Regions from separate parts of the Homo sapiens genome. Here region 1 is linked to region 2. Evidence: promoter capture Hi-C in human tissues and cell types (Jung and others, 2019). All regions are on one chromosome and are shown on one strand. The core of a region is centred on a gene start or on the middle of the fragment in contact, and the rest is flanking DNA. Distances in the headings are between cores, read along the strand shown.

The links. Contacts are between HindIII fragments. The study calls those that stand out against the background at their distance.
Region 1: a contact is called between a fragment that was not itself captured here and the fragment with the promoter of SCG3 in region 2, in 1 of the 25 tissues and cell types used here (mesendoderm cells).

The regions. Positions count from the first base shown.
Region 1 is chr15:51,640,809-51,643,821 of GRCh38, reverse strand. All of the region lies in intron 2 of LOC105370816 (a long non-coding RNA gene), which reads left to right. Among named protein-coding and RNA genes, the nearest start is that of DMXL2, 20 kb to the right of the region's middle. The HindIII fragment of the contact is 6,959 bases long and covers 1-3,013 here.
Region 2 is chr15:51,680,005-51,683,029 of GRCh38, reverse strand. It overlaps SCG3 (secretogranin III), which reads right to left and starts at 1,527. Exons shown (of 12, transcript NM_013243.4): 1 at 1,193-1,527; 2 at 461-513. The coding sequence starts at 1,274. The HindIII fragment of the contact is 9,018 bases long and covers 1-3,025 here.

The sequences.
Region 1 (3,013 bases), core at 43-2,542, 39 kb after region 2:
CAAAATGTCTTTGTGTATTTATATTATTTAAAAAATCATCAAAAATGTTCCAACTACATAGAGGTAATGTTAGAAAATAGGTAATAGCCGGGTGCAGTGGCTCACGCCTGTAATCCCAGCACTTTGGGAGACTGAGGCAGGTGGATCACCTGACATCAGGAGTTAGAGACCATCCTGACCAACATGGTGAAACCCCATCTCCACTAAAAATACAAAAATTAGCTGGGCATGGTGGAATGCACCCGTAATTCCAACTGCTGGGAAGGCTGAGGCAGGAGAATCACCTGAGCCCGGGAGGCAAAGGTTGCAGTCAGCCGAGATTACATCATTGCACTCCAGCCTGGGCAACAAGAGCAAGACTCTGTCTCAAAAAAAAAAAAAAAAGTAAATAGGTGATAATGGCTACTTTTTTTTTTTCTTTTTGACATGGAGTCTCGCTCTGTCGCCCAGGCTGGAGTGCAGTGACGCGATCTCAGCTCACTGCAAGCTCCATCTCCCAGGTTCACACTATTCTCCTGCCTCAGCCTCCCGAGTAGCTGGGACTACAGGTGCATTCCACTATGCCCAGCTAATTTTTGTATTTTTAGTAGAGACGGGGTTTCACCATGTTGGTCAGGCTGGTCTCGAACTCCTGACCTCAGGTGATCCACCTGCCTCGGTCTCCCAAAGTACTGGGATTACAGGCATGAGCCACCGCACCCGGCTATAATGGCTACTTTTATTGAGCAACCATTGTGTGCCAGATCCTAAGAATAGCCATATATTATTACATTTAGTCCTTACACTCAGAAATGTAGTTTTATTCTCATTATTCAGATGAAAACACTGAAGATCAGAGAAATAAACTGCCTAAGATTACACAGTGAGTAGCTGGCAGAAGCAGCGTCTGAACAGCCCTCTGATTCTACAGCCTGTGCCCTTTCCTCCACATTACATTCAGGAAACAAGTCCTGTCCTGTTTTTAAGATCATTGGTTCTTCAACATCTTAGTTTTGAATCACAGAAAAGTAGAGCATTAGGTAGACAGGATTTCATAAGAAAAACAATTTAATAAGATAAACAAATTATTGGACAAGATCATAGTACAGGATAAGATCTGATCTTGCTTTGGGAAGTTTGAGAACAGTCATTACACTACTTATGGTGACTGGGTTCAAGCCCGGAGATGTCTTAAATAAGTGAGTAAGTCAACGTCATTGATGTCCCAAATGTCTATGGATCTCACTCTCTGATAACAGTTTCCAGACTTTTGAACTTCAGAGATATAAATAAATAACAAAGTGGGAAAAGGAATAAAAATAACCTTGCAAACTTTTTTATTTTGCCCAGTAAGGATGTTTTTAAAAAAGTCACACTACTCTGTACTATGACCTTTGTTTCCATAAAGATTAAACATTTTAGCGCTCCTCTCCTCCCAAACTGGAAAAATATAATTTGAAAACAAAGGATTGTTCCTCCAAAGAAAGAATAGTTGGTAACCTTAGTCTCCATATATATTCCCCATTGTCATTATTTTTGTCATATTTGCAGTAAAGGGGAGAACTCTGTCTTTTAGTGGTTCTGGTATTGGATAAATGAACTTACTTCATAGTTCCCAGAAATAATCTTTGTGTAAATTACAACTAAATCAGGAAAATGGAACAAGGTAAAGATCATATAGAAAGCTAATTGATCTTGCTTTGCATATAGACCTTCAAGTTTAATTTTTAAAAGTTGTTGAGTGACATTTCCATTTCTGGTATTTATTAAAAATTTGCAGGGTAAAGCATAAAGTTTTAATCTGTTAATCATTTGTTTAAGGTGGTAACTAATCTTTGAGAGCTTGAGGCCCAATGTATTTGTATTTCGACATTAGCCTGAGCCAGGGGTAAGTCAAGAACTAGCAGGAACTTCTCAATTTACAAATCCTAAGAGAAGAAAACAAGGAAGTTTCATTGCTTCAACCAAAAATGTTTACTAAGTGCTTATTTTAGTTTTGGACATAGGCACTAATAATATAGTTTATGGAGCCACTAGACCCCGAGCTCTTTAAGAGCAGACTCTGTGTAGTCCCAGCTGCTAACAGGTCCCAAGCCAAGTGAGGAGCACAAATAAAGTTTGTTGAATGAATGCGAGAATAAATAACAAGCACTTCTAAAAATCACAACAAAGACAGGATGAAAGGAAGCTTGTTTACTTAAACACGACTAACTAGAATCAAGGGATATGCCTTGACATTTATGAGGTAAATTTAGGAGAAATAAAGGAAACACAGGATAAAATAAAAATAAAGTAAAAGTGGGCAAAACCAAAATAATCCTAAACTGAAGCCAAAAACAAAGTCTTTCCCTCCCAGCAGCTCTGGATCCAATATTGGAGATGGACCCTTATTTAAGAAAACTGGAATTAGGCATTCTCATCATAAAATATATAAGTGGAATTTTGTTATTATAAAAAAGATATGTAGTATTTGCCAGAGAGGGCTCAGTGAGAGGGGTATTTTTTCTACTTCTACTGATTTTACTAGAAGATAGGACATGGATTTATATATATCTATATTTATTTATTTTCTTTCTTTCTTTCTTATTTATTTATTTATTTTTTTTAGATGAAGTCTTGCTCTGTTGCCCAGGGTGGAGTGCAGTGACGTGATCTCGGCTCACTGCAAGCTCCGCCTCCTGGGTTCACGTCATTGTCCTGCCTCAGCCTCCTGAGTAGCTGGGACTACAGGCACCCGCCACCTCACCTGGCTAATTTTATGTATTTTTAGTACAGACAGGGTTTCACCGTGTTAGCCAGGATGGTCTCGATCTCCTGACCTTGTGATCCGCCTGCCTCGGCCTCCCAAAGTCCTGGGATTACAGACTTGAGCCACCGTGCCTGGCCTAGTTTGTTTTCTTTTTACTTTTTTTTTGTTTTTGAGATGGAGTTTCGCTCTGTCGCCCAGGCTGGAGTGCAGTGGCGCAGTCTTGGCTCACTGCAACCTCCGCCTCCCAGGTTCAAGCAATTCTCCTGCCTCAGCCTCCCGAGTAGC
Region 2 (3,025 bases), core at 278-2,777:
CTTACCAAGTACAAGAGCCAAATGATTTAATCTCCATGGGATTTAATTGTCTTGTTTGTAAAATGTGGATAATTCCTATTTCAGAGCACTGTTATAATAATTAAATGAGATAAAATTAAGGGTAGATGCTCAGTCAGTGTTAATTTCTTTCTCCTATAATATTGTTGAAAGAGAAATCTCTGGTAAATTAGGCAATCTTACAACAGAGTGGATGTGATGCTGAGCTTACTGGGTTATTATATAGTTACTCTATGTATTCATTATACAGAACTCAATGTAAATAACTGCTAGGGCATAGAATTTACCAAAACTAGATTTCCCGTCCTAATTTCTGTCAATTAACTATTAAGTTCCTGATGTTTGTAAATTCAAAATGACCAAAATGTCACAGCATAATTACATTAAATAATAATAACTAAATCAAAATGAAATAGCATTCATAATGTTACTTTTGACCTACCTGTTCATTCAAAGGTCTTTCTGCACTTAATTCTCTATTATGTAGAGATTTGTCTAGAATAAACACATGTGAATATAAATTTAATTGTGCGTTGAAGGACAAAATATGCCTCTTATTAAATAAAATTTTTATAAAAAGGAAAAATATTAGGAGAAATAATTTTGGATGACTATGAAACAAATGCATATTAACAAAGATTATCAAGATTATACAATAATAGTAATTATCAATATTGCCTTGTTTATTATCTTGGTGTATTTCTTGAGCTGACAGAATCACACTTTTTTTTTTTTCTGACCAGAAATTTAACATATAGTTCTAACACTAGGGTTATCAGCTATTCTCAGCTAGAGAGAGCATAATTTGGATTGGTATTATTGGCACACTAAAAGCTCTTTCATCATATACTGCATATATAATGAATAGACTGTCTGAGAAAGGTTGTAAGGCAACTAGAAAACAATCCAAGCCACTTTAGGTGAAAAAGGTTCCCTTCCCTTTTCAAAATAAGATCTTTAAAAACAACCCATATTATTGCTCTATCATTTTAAAAGTGAAGAAAAAAAATCTGTCTTCTGTCTCTAAATTCGAACTGATTTCTCTGTCCGTATTCATGGATATGATTTGATCAGAAAACGCGTCAGGGTGATTTACAGCTCACGTATTATGCCAAACTTTACCTTTTCGTGGCGAAATAAAAGGAAGGTAGGAAGAAGAAAAGTGTTCACATACCTTGGCTTCCTCCAGGTTTGGGGAAAGCTTGAATCGGGAGCACTAACACCAGAATCCAAGTGCCGGTCCCGAGGAACCCCATTCTTCCACGCTCGGCTTGGGTCACAGCCCGGCGCTGGGCTCCTGGAGCTGTAGCTTTTGTTATGAATGAAAAGGAGGAGTAAAAACAGGAAGAGCCAGGAGGGTGGGTGTGGGGCGGGAGAGGGGCCGGGACTGGGCGGCTGCAGGATCTCTGACACTCGACGGTCAAGGGATAAGCAGGGTTGGGGCGCGCGGGAGTCAAGTCTCCAGGTAGAGGGGAGCGCTGTCCGCCCTGTGGGTGCTGAAGTTCCTGTGACGCGGAGACTGCGCGCCAGGGCGTAGCTTTACTCTCGCTCCCTCCTGCAGAGGAAGTGAGGAAGGAAGCGCATGCTCCATGCACGCCAGAGGCGGGAGGGGATGGCGTCGGTGACTCCAACGCTACTCCAATCCCCCGGGAATGGAACAAAGGAGGGGCGACCGGCCAGCTGGTGTATTTTCTGTGCTGCAGTCCTAGGGTGCTCCTGGGCTCAGGGTCAGCTGGCTTGTCCTAAGCGTGACAGAATTGTCCCAACCTCTCAAGTAAATGTTACTTCAAGGGCCAAATGCCTTCTCTGCCTGTGCACCTGTCAAGGAGATTTAGATAACCTTGTGCGAGGAGTTCTGCTTCGGGATTCTTCTTTTGGGATATCTGCTCCAGAATCCCTTCCTTCCATTCACCTCCTGTACCCAAAAGGTAGATATAATTATAATCTCTTTAGAAAAGCCCTGCCTTTTGTGGTCTGTGTTGACGTATCAAGCATCCCTCAGCTCTACCGAGGCTTTTGAATTGGGAAATTCAAGGAACAGTCTTCCAAATAGTCAGATTGCTGCAATACACTCTCACTCTCTGATGCTGAAACACAACAACAACAGAAACAGTCCTGAGTAGACGAGCAGCAATGGCAAATTCTCCTTTCCCCACCAAGTGGAACCTCCCCCACTTTACACACACACACCACACAACTAAATTAGAAAAAAGAAGCTGCATTTCTGTAAAATCTTGCCCAGAATTTAATTATGCCCAAAGACCTGGCTGTTCCAGGGGGTCCTTCAAGAGAGGGGATAGTCATGAAAAGCATTTTTCATCTTTACTAAGTCAGGGAGGTGCTTCCTATGTTCTGAGAATATTCCCAGAAGCCTAAGGTTATTGTATACAAGGAACTATCAAAAGACTTTAAATGATGAAAACAAGCAACATTAATGTGAGCAGGATGCTGAGTAAGCTCTTTAGTCTCTGATTTTTAAACAGAACTTGGACCTTTTCCTCTGGACTGCGGCATGCTGGGAACCAGTCTGAATAATGACCAAAGAGAAGGATTCAGCACAATCAGGCCTTTGATTTCTGCACCCTCCTTTTCAAGGAGGAAGTTATTCAAGTACCTAAAAACAAACAAACAACCAAGCTGACAAACAAATCTCCCTTGCTCCGGAGGTTTTTGAGTTTGGAAGTCACTCAAATACTTCCTTTGAGGATCTAAAGAGTATTCTAAATCTAACAGCTCCTTCAAAACAAAAAACTCTTTATTGGCAGTAATAACATAGCATTATTATCCCAGTATACTGCATTAAAAAATTAAGTCATATTTTAAAATCCCAGCTGAATGAAGGGTATATTTCCTTAGTTTCCTTTTCTTTATGATGGAAATGACAGGCTCTGTTTACCTCACACTGTTATTATGAAGATCAAATGGGTACATGTTTTGAACTAGTCATTTTGATACCAAGAATATTTTGATACAGCCTAAGAAAATAAGTCATGAAACGTTTTCAGCT